Regions from separate parts of the Homo sapiens genome. Here regions 1 and 3 are each linked to region 2. Evidence: promoter capture Hi-C in 16 types of primary human blood cells and fetal thymus (Javierre and others, 2016). All regions are on one chromosome and are shown on one strand. Each heading gives the region's core, a stretch centred on a gene start or on the middle of the fragment in contact. The rest is flanking DNA. Distances are from core to core; before and after follow the strand shown. Region 1 holds the start of NRAS (NRAS proto-oncogene, GTPase). Region 2 holds the start of SASS6 (SAS-6 centriolar assembly protein). Region 3 holds the start of PKN2-AS1 (PKN2 antisense RNA 1).

Region 1 (3,054 bases), core at 555-3,054, about 15 Mb after region 2:
AATAATCTCTAAAGTTAGGCATTTCTAAACTGAACAAAATTACAAAACCCTTTATTTATTTATCTATTTATTTATTTTTTGAGACGAAGTCTCGCTCTGTTGCCCAGGCTGGAGGTCTGTGGTGTGATCTCGGCTCACTGCACCCTCTGCCTCTGGTTCAAGCGATTCTCCTGCCTCAGCCTCCTGAGTAGCTGGGATTACAGGTGCCTGCCACCACACCCAGCTAATTTTTGTATTTTTAGTAGAGACGGGGTTTCACCATGTTGATCAGGCTGGTCTTGAACTCCTGACCTTGTGATCCGCCTGCCTCAGCCTCCCAAAGTGCTGGGATTACAGGCGTGAGCCACCGTGTCCGGCAAAACCCTTTATTTAAAGAGCCTTAGGTGCCACTTACTGAAGACAATCTGTACCATGAACTCTCATAATAACAATAGAATCCCTAAGTACTATTACATAGTGCTTTACCATTCATAAATAACTTAAATATATTATTTAACTTTCCATAACATCCCTGTGTGGTAGGCAGGACAAGTTTATGGTAATTTAAAACATGAGGAAAATGAGGTTGGGAGAGATTCAGTTGCTCAATATCACACAACTAAATAAACTGCAAACAGGGACCAAAATCCTAGGCATAAAGACTAAAAATCTCAAGTTCTTGCTACTCCAATCATCTGGTCTCAGCTGCTTCAACTAGCTAATAAATAAATATTGAAGAACACTCATCTCTGAATCCTTTATCTCCATCCTATTATCTCCCATACAATCAGACAGTCTCGCTACTATGGCCTGTGTTTCTCATGTAATAGAGCTGTTATATATGAAGAAACTCATGAATGAACTCAACACTGAGTTTGCAATAGTTTACAGAACTGTTAAAAACTGGACAGGTTTTAGAAACTTCAGCAGCTAATAAAAATGAACTGTTCTCTATAAACACGTTAAGCTTATTGCATAACTGAATGTATACCCAAAATAACTTTTTACTTTCTCTCCTCTTATTCCTTTAATACAGAATATGGGTAAAGATGATCCGACAAGTGAGAGACAGGATCAGGTCAGCGGGCTACCACTGGGCCTCACCTCTATGGTGGGATCATATTCATCTACAAAGTGGTTCTGGATTAGCTGGATTGTCAGTGCGCTTTTCCCAACACCACCTGCTCCAACCACCACCAGTTTGTACTCAGTCATTTCACACCAGCAAGAACCTGTTGGAAACCAGTAATCAGGGTTAATTGGCGAGCCACATCTACAGTACTTTAAAGCTTTCTATAATCAATGGAAATGAAAACCCTAGTGTGACCTTCCATTTGGTTCTTAAAGTGACTAGAGAACGCAAAAACACCGGATTAATATCGGCCTCACACTTCTGGAGTAGTTTTCTAGCAACCCCCATCCTTAGCTATTTTTCAACAGTCCTTGGGCCCCGCCCTCAGCCTAAGCAATGGAAATCCCCCTTCCTATTACTCCCCGAAGGCTTCTCAGCTCTAGCAGGAAGCCTCCAGGCCGCAACTCCTTCCCATTCTCCCTTCTGTCTCCAAAGATCTCCCCACGTAGGCACCAAATGGAAGGACCCCCGCCCAAGGCCTTTGTCTCCAGCTGATAGATTCTGCTCCATTTCTGGCATCAGTGAAACGCCTGAACATTCCACAGCCCAAAGCCGAACACTATGCATGAGATAAACTTACCTCAAGCTCCACTGCCTCTGCTTTGGACAGATTTAGGACCACAGCCGGGAAAAATGTTGGAGACCCCGGAACCGCCATGAACAGCCCCCACCAAGGAGCGGCACTTCCGGCCCCGCCCGCTACGTAATCAGTCGGCGCCCCAGGCGCCTGAGTCCCCGCCCCGGCCACGTGGGCCTCCGAACCACGAGTCATGCGGCAGGCCGCACCCAGACCCGCCCCTCCCACACGGGACGTTTCAATAATGAAAGCGCTAGGTGCTAGTGTCTCAAAAATCAGTAAAACTTTATTCGCTTCCATTCTTTCGCCATTAACAGAAAACTGGAGAAAGCAAAAATGTTTCGTGTTTACAAAGATAAACGGCCTCTTTACCCAGAGATCAAAACCTCAAACGACAAGGGGGAAGATAAAACCGCCCTCCCCCACATCCCCTGAGCTGACCCTTGTCATCTTAGACAAAGCCTTCAGTCCACTGGCCAGGGACCCTGTATATGGCCAATTCAAGAAGAGGGCCAAGAAATCAGACCCATCCATTCCCGTGATATAAAGTTGAACAGAAGCTACACCAAGGGTCAAGTGTCTGTATTTTACAGGACACAGTAACCAGGCGGCTACTTATAAAAAAAAACAAGATTCATTTCAGGCACAACTTTTTTATTTTTTTTTGTTTTGTTTTTAAATCAGTAAAAGAAACCGGGTCCTAGAAGCTGCAGTGATCTAAGCAGCAGCAAGTTTGTGCATTCATTTTTTTTGTTTTTGTTTAAATATGTTTAAATTATCACACTGCTGGCACTCCTCATTTGCATGAAATTCTGCACCATACTTACTAATTGTAGTAAAGTTACCCCCCAACCCACGAAAAAAAACCTACTCTGGAAGAAAATTTTCACTGAAATATAACCAAACTTCTTTAAGTGGATTGTGACAAGATTATAAATGATATGAAAAATAACATTTTAAAATTTGGCCATCAACTTTAAGAAATGGTTTGCCTATACAAATTTTTGTAATTTTTAAAAGATAATATATTCTACCCTCATATGGTCCTCAGAATTAAAGCATAATGAACAGGAAGAAAAAGGAAAAGAATGCAACTGAGTGCTAAGGCAGAACATCTTGCCAGAAGTAATTAATGAAGGTAGAGTATATAATGAAAAGTGCAGAATTTCATAGGGCCAACAAGATAACAGTCTATATTTTTCACTTACACAGGCAAAGTGGATTCTGCAATTACCAGTTGCGTTAAATGCACCAAATAAAGCTCCTAAAATTGATACTATAAGGCGCCACCTTAAGTTTTTCCAGGCTGCAACTGTGCATTATTTAAAATGGTTTTCTTAAATTTATTTATTTTTTTAAACATAAC
Region 2 (3,062 bases), core at 369-2,868:
CCTAAAGTGCTGGGACTACGGGTGTGAGCCACCATACCTAGCCTACTTTTAAATTTTCTAGAAGTCACATTTTAAAAAGACTTTTAAAAGCAGGTGAAATTAATTTTAATAATACATTGTATTTAACCCAATATACCCAAAAATATTGCCATTTAACACATAATATAAAAATTGACATATTTTACATTCTTTTTTCATAGTAAGTCTTAAAAATCCAACGTGCATTTTCATATGTAAAGCACAACAATTCAGATAAGCCCCATTTCAAATGTCTAATAACCACATGTGGCTAGTGGCTACCATACTGGACAGCATTAAAAGAATGATCAACTAAACCTACAGATCTCCATATGCAGCTGCTGGTTTTGGGACCATCTCCTTGACCGGCTTGCCATTGATTTTTGACCGAATTCTGAACTATATATACTACAGTTTGACATTACTGGCAACTCAATAAGGCAATGTCTTCATTTTTTATGTTACATTTGTACACCACTTAGTTTTCACATACGATTTCACACCTGATCCTCATTACAAACACGTGAATACGCAAAAGATTTCACACCTGATCCTCATTACAAACACGTGAATACGCATGTTATATCAGTTTTACAAATGAGGAAAGAACGTTCAGAGAAAAAAAGAGACAACCATTGAGTGTTAGAACTGAGAAAAAAAAAGTAAGTCTCCTGACCTCTGGTCAAATCTATTTACGCCCCAATAATACCACCTCCTTAATCAAAGTTGCACTTCTCTGTGCGACTGGTCTTTATTTCCTCCAGTGATTGTAAACTCCATGAAGAAAAGGACTGTTTTTCCTGACCACTGTATTCCCAGTGCCCAGTAAGGTGTTTTACAAGGAGGCAATATTTATTGAATGAATTAATGACGTTTCTGCTTTTCTCATTTTTAGTCGGTTAAATGTAATTTACTTTTTTAAAGCAACTGATGTGAAGAGCCAAAGTACGCCACCAAATTGGTAGGTTTTTAAAAGTTGAACTTTACTGCCAACATACTTCAAAAGAGAACGAGGGGGAAAGGCTCGGAGCCAAGGCCTGAGTTCTAGTCCTGACCCTGCCATGAACTGGCTGTGAGCCCTCACGTAAATTTTTTTAACTTCTCTGGGCCAGAGTTCTTATCTGTCAAAAGGGAAGAGTAGGGCTATAATCTTCACGATTCCGTGCACAGGTAGGGTTTTTGACATTAACTTGATGTGAGCCGGCTTCCTAACTCCTCACACCCTTCCTCCAGTCCCCTCTGCAACGGCCGACTTGGTGAGAGAGGTAACCACCGGGCCCTCTGGGTTCCCTATCCGCTTCCTAGGGGGGCCGACTCGACACCTAGGTGCAAGGTGGATCCCACGGGCCAGAACCGCCATCTTTCCCCATTGGCCTGACCCCAACCGCCACCCGCGGGCACTGGATGACGCGGACCTTACCTCTCCTCACAGTCTTTGCATTTCACCTGCAACGGGACTAGTTGGTGGAACAGCACTTGGCTCATGTTGGCTCGCTGCCTCGGCTGGTGTGCAGAAAAGCCCAACAGGCCCGGCCCTCGGGATTAGCCTGAGAGGTCCGGGTCCTGATAAAGTTTGAGTTTGGCGCTCGGCTTCTGCGGAGGAGGCGGGGAGGGAGAAACGAGGGGAAGGCGTAAGAGACTTGGCCCTCGCCAGCCACCATCGGATTCTTCCGGTTCTGCGGAGGATAAAGGGAAGACGGTTGTGGTAGTTCCGGGTATTAACCTGTGTGGCGCGGGGGCTGAGGCAGCCATGTTTGTTAAGGGAAGGAGACCCGAAGGAAGCTTCTAACTTTTCTTCTGGTTGCCGGATGCTGGACACCGGAAGCGAGCCCTAGAATTATGGCGACCTCCGCGACGTCGCCGCACGCGCCTGGTTTTCCAGCTGAGGGTAGATGCGGTTACTATGTGGAAAAGAAGAAACGGTTCTGCAGGATGGTGGTGGCCGCAGGGAAAAGATTTTGTGGTGAACACGCTGGAGCCGCGGAGGTGTGGTATCGCCCTACTCTCTCAAGAGTCGGAAATAAGTATCCTGGTCCTGTCGGTGCTGGAACCCGGCCCCTCCCCTCTTTGACAGCTTTCTGCTTGTGTCCCCTGGATTCTCCAGCTTTCACTTTAATAAACCCAGTTTTGCCCTCCTTGCGGAGCGATTATGAGTTCTAGTGATGAGAAATTTTTTATTTTTCTAAGTAAAGCGCCAGCAGTGACCCATTTATTTTGATCTATTTATCTCGATCTTAACTCATGGTAATGCTAGGTTTTAATTTTTACCCCAAGCTACCGCTCCGTCTTCCTGCTGGAAAGTGGTAGTTTAGAAAAAGTAGTGATTGAAGTCCCAAAGGTTTCACTAGTTGTGTTCTAATTGTTATTTCATGAAAGAGAAGCACTTCTCGTGAATGCGGTTGGAAGAAACTTTCTTTTAAAAATTTAGACTTGAGGCCCGGCGCGGTGGCTCACGCCTGTAATCCCAGCACTTTGGGAGGCCGAGGCGGGCGGATCACTTGAGGTCAGGAGCTCGAGACCAGCCTGGCCAACATGATGAAACCCTCTCTCTACTAAAAATAAGAAAATCAGCCGTGGCGCGAGCTACTAAAATTAAGAAAATCGTGGTGGTGCGAGCCTGTAACCCCAGCTACTCGGGAGGCTGAGGCAGGAGAATCGCTTGAACCCAGGAGGTGGAGGTGGCAATAATCCAAGATCACACCACTGCATTCCAGCCTGGGTGACAGCCAGACTGAATCTCAAAAAAGAAAAAAAAATTTTTTTCGACTTACAGTTTTTAAGAATGCAACTTTGCTGGAATGGGAAGGAAAGATTTTTAAATATATACGAATTGACCTTTTACAATTGAGAACAAAGCATACAATTTTGTTTGATAATTATGCATATAAATGTACTATCAAACACTTTATATTTGTATATATGTATATTACTTTAGGATATATATGAGATGGGAAAATAAAAACCAGAGGAGCAAAATGCTCATAGGAAGAGAGCATGTCCTTATAGTTCCACAGAACTATAAAGAATAAACCAAAGCGATCAGC
Region 3 (3,484 bases), core at 405-2,904, about 11 Mb before region 2:
AGGTGCGGAGTCCATACCGGAGCGCAATGGCGTCCAACCCCGAACGGGGGGAGATTCTGCTCACGGAACTGCAGGTAAGGGCCGCGGCCCTGGTGAGAGGCGCTGGCGGAGGAGACAGGGAGAGAGCCCCGCGCGGCGTCGGGGACCGAGGAAAGCCCTGCGGCCGCCGCGCCCCTAGCCCGCTAAGTGCGGAAACTCCGGGATGTCACTCGGGAAATGCTTCCCTCGGGGAACCGCTTCCCTGGGGAGCCGGACCCTCTCCCCCGCCAAAGCCCTGGCCTGCCACCGCTTTGGTTTGATTCTGCCTACCAGAGGGGACCCCATCTCTGCAGCCCTGCTGCAGCGGGAGCCTGCTCTCGCCTGGTCCCCGGAGAGGCCGGCCCGTCGCCCCCTCCCTCGGTGTCAGAGCTACCCGCGAACGCCCCTGTTGCCCCCTCCCTTCGCGCGGCCGGGCCCCGCCCCGCCTTTCCTCCGTACACCGCTCCTTAAACTCCTTTGAATGACTCCCAAGCTGTTTTCTTGTCCCTCCCCCTCCCCTCAGACTCCGCACAAAGAGCGCCCCCATAACTTCCAGCCCCTAGACAAGTTTTTTTAAAAAACGAGTCTCACCAAATGTTTGCTTCACTTCAGCAGCCCTCTTCAGGTGACAGAGTTTCTTTCCTCTATTTTGAGGGTTATCTTTTTCTTTTCTTTTCCTTTCTTTTTTTTTTTTTAACCGAGTGATAAATACAGGGTGCCTTTCTCTGCTACCCCTGCCCAGATCCGGGAGCTCAGATGCTGATGCTTTTCAGACTTTCATTTTCCCTCTCATTTGAGCACCAGAGAAAGAGCTAATAAGTTGTTTACTAATGAGAAAGCAGTCGACTAAGGGAAAACATTGGGCACCACATGTCTGCAAAAGATGAGAGCAAAGTAGATCGCTTAGTTAAGTCATGTCGAGTAGCAATGTTATTTCCCATTTCCAGATAAATATTTGATAATGTAGGCACGATTTTCTTTAGATCTCTATGGTGTACATGGGGACTTAAGCTACCCTGTCGGGTTTTTCATTACTTGGGAGTGTTCCAGAGATGTTTGTTTTTTGACTTAAAAGTTATTTTGCTTTATTTTAATATAGTTATCTTTTAGCTACTCAAAGATTGTAGATGGGAATTAGGAGAAAAAAATAGCATGCCTGCATTTCTTTTTGTGTGTTGGACAGTTAATTTTTTTTAAAAAAAAGACTAAATCAAGAAATTCTGAAGAGTTGATGTCAAAATTAAGTATTGCAACTGCATCTAAATTTCTTGTTTAAATATACTTTTTAAGAAATCTCTTTATAAGTTTGGTTTCTTGTGCAGTCAGACGTAAGCTTGAAAACTTTGGTATAATGGTTGATATTTCCTCCACAAAAATAGAGACTTTAACAATGTATATCAATGCAGTGTTGCACATTTAGAATCCTTTGGTAATGCAAAGCTGAATTTCATATAATTGAAAATGTTGCTATGTAGTATTTTAATTACAGTTAGCCTTTTATAAGCAGATCTTACAGCATACCACATTTGCTAAATGAATGGAATTTACTATTTTATTAATAGTAAATAATTTACATGAGCTTTTAAAATGAAGATGATGTGAGGCAAGTCAGAAATACTTTACATTGCCTGGTCTTGAACCATGAAAAACATACTTTGGTTTTGATTGAGAAAGATGATAGGGTCACTTTTCTTTTGAATTGAGCAGTGTTAGAGTTACAATATATTTGGCATTGGTACTTGTATGTTATAGAAAGTTGGCATAAAAGACACCTACTTTGGCACTGGAACTGAAAATATATTTTCATGTGTATTAATAACATTTAGGATCTTTTAATTAATAAGATCAATTTTGATAATAACAAGGAAGCAAGCAAAGAAGGAAGAAATTTTAAATATGATGACCTAGAAATACGACCAAAATAGAGGAATACCTAAAGTTAAGCTTCTAGATAAACTGAAATATAACCCCTTCCAGAAAAAGAATAGTTTTTATTAAGTGTTACCTTATAGGTTGTCATATATCCAAGTCATTTTCTTGGTTTATTTGACTCCCAGTTTTGATAAAAGTTATTGCATTTAAACTTTATCGTGTTTATTAAAATGTTTGCGACTATTACTTATATCAACACTTAAAGATAAATAGTCATAAAGTTTGCTTCTCCAAATATTTCCATCTATTCAGACTTTTTATTTCATTGGGTCCTGAAACTTAGTGTACAGCAACCAAGTATTTATTAAACTTTTGTTTCAAGATTCACTTTTTTAAAAAGCTTCTAAATTGTTTGAATTTAGACTGAAATACTGTTTAATATGAAGTTCTTAATTCTTCTCTGCCATACAGATTTTAAGTATTTAAGAAGTTTTGTAGCCAGTTTTAAGATGTATTTAATGGTTAAAACTGTTACTTTGCTATGTATCCTGTCTCAGGAATACTTGTTTACTCTGAAAGTTACATATTACAACCTGGCTTTAATAAAATTGATATTTATTTAGAAATATATCCAGCTTTTCATTATTTTTTCAAATTGTAGAATTTGAAATACTCCACTGCTTGAGCTGGAATTGGCTTTTGGTCATGGAAAGGCAAAGTAAGAAAATCTGAAACTACAGTATTCTGTCTTGTTAATTACTGTAATAGCATGGAGTAATGTTTTTAAGTATTGTTAGTAATTCAGGAGGCTTATTCAACAAGGAAGCATTAATAAACTATGTAAACTTTGGTGGCTAGAGGTTTCAAGGTATAAGGAAGAATATTTACTGTAGTAAAAATAAAAATCGGCTGTTTAAAATGGCCAATTTCTAATTTTTATCTCATAACTAATTTGTTGTGTTGTATTCTCTTTTTTTATTTGAAGTATAGCAGAAAACAGACATTTTTGCAATGCCAAAGAAACTAAAGTCTATTTCCAAGAAACCTGGATTAATGAAAACTGTAAAGAATCTCAGAATGAAAGTGTTGGCTACAATGGTAATTTTGTAGAATGCAGACCAAATATTGAGCAGTGTACTAACAAAGCTACCTTGTTGATTATTGGAGATTCATTTTCTTCATCAAAATGCCCAATAAAGTGTTGGTCTGGGAATCTTAAATTCCATTCTCAGCAGATTTTATTTAGATAGAGGTAACTTGCTCAAGTGGAAAGTTGAGATAGTTACCCTTAAATTACAGGGGTTAATTTCACCAAACAGTTATGTAGTATCTACCAAAGCTATATTGGAGGATATAAAGATGACAAGATAGGTTTTTGCTTTCCAGAAGAGAGTATAGATAATTGTACTAGAAGATAATTATAAGAGACTACAAATAACATTTTAAAAATTATTTGCTATATATCAGACATTGTACTTAGTGTCCTATACACCTTATTTGATCTTCACAACAATCCAATAAGGTAGGTGTTATTTCCATGTTGTGGATCAGGAAACAAGTTCAAGAATGTTAAGGAAATTGCTCATGGTTACAT

The links. Contacts are between HindIII fragments. The CHiCAGO score rates a contact against its expected background, and 5 or more counts as called.
Region 1: a contact is called between the fragment with the promoter of NRAS here and the fragment with the promoter of SASS6 in region 2, in 1 of 17 cell types (total B cells). The highest score is 5.9, in total B cells.
Region 3: a fragment that was not itself captured here is called in contact with the fragment with the promoter of SASS6 in region 2 in 1 of 17 cell types (fetal thymus); the score reaches 5.2 in fetal thymus.

Annotation. Positions count from the first base shown.
Region 1 is chr1:114,714,967-114,718,020 of GRCh38, forward strand. It overlaps NRAS (NRAS proto-oncogene, GTPase), which reads right to left and starts at 1,805. Exons shown (of 7, transcript NM_002524.5): 1 at 1,692-1,805; 2 at 1,084-1,211. The coding sequence starts at 1,194. CSDE1 (cold shock domain containing E1) reads right to left here. Exons shown (of 20, transcript NM_001007553.3): 20 at 1,950-3,054. RefSeq lists enhancers at 1,501-1,600, 1,611-1,810. The HindIII fragment of the contact is 3,751 bases long and covers 1,267-3,054 here.
Region 2 is chr1:100,131,312-100,134,373 of GRCh38, forward strand. It overlaps SASS6 (SAS-6 centriolar assembly protein), which reads right to left and starts at 1,619. Exons shown (of 17, transcript NM_194292.3): 1 at 1,439-1,619. The coding sequence starts at 1,503. It overlaps TRMT13 (tRNA methyltransferase 13), which reads left to right and starts at 1,852. Exons shown (of 11, transcript NM_019083.3): 1 at 1,852-2,004. The coding sequence starts at 1,858. RefSeq lists a silencer at 1,241-1,404 and enhancers at 1,400-2,002, 1,407-1,526, 1,537-2,066. The HindIII fragment of the contact is 1,832 bases long and covers 1-1,798 here.
Region 3 is chr1:88,684,555-88,688,038 of GRCh38, forward strand. It overlaps PKN2 (protein kinase N2), which reads left to right. Exons shown (of 22, transcript NM_006256.4): 1 at 1-74. The coding sequence starts at 27. PKN2-AS1 (PKN2 antisense RNA 1) reads right to left here and starts at 650. Exons shown (of 4, transcript NR_110682.1): 1 at 610-650. The HindIII fragment of the contact is 611 bases long and covers 1,350-1,960 here.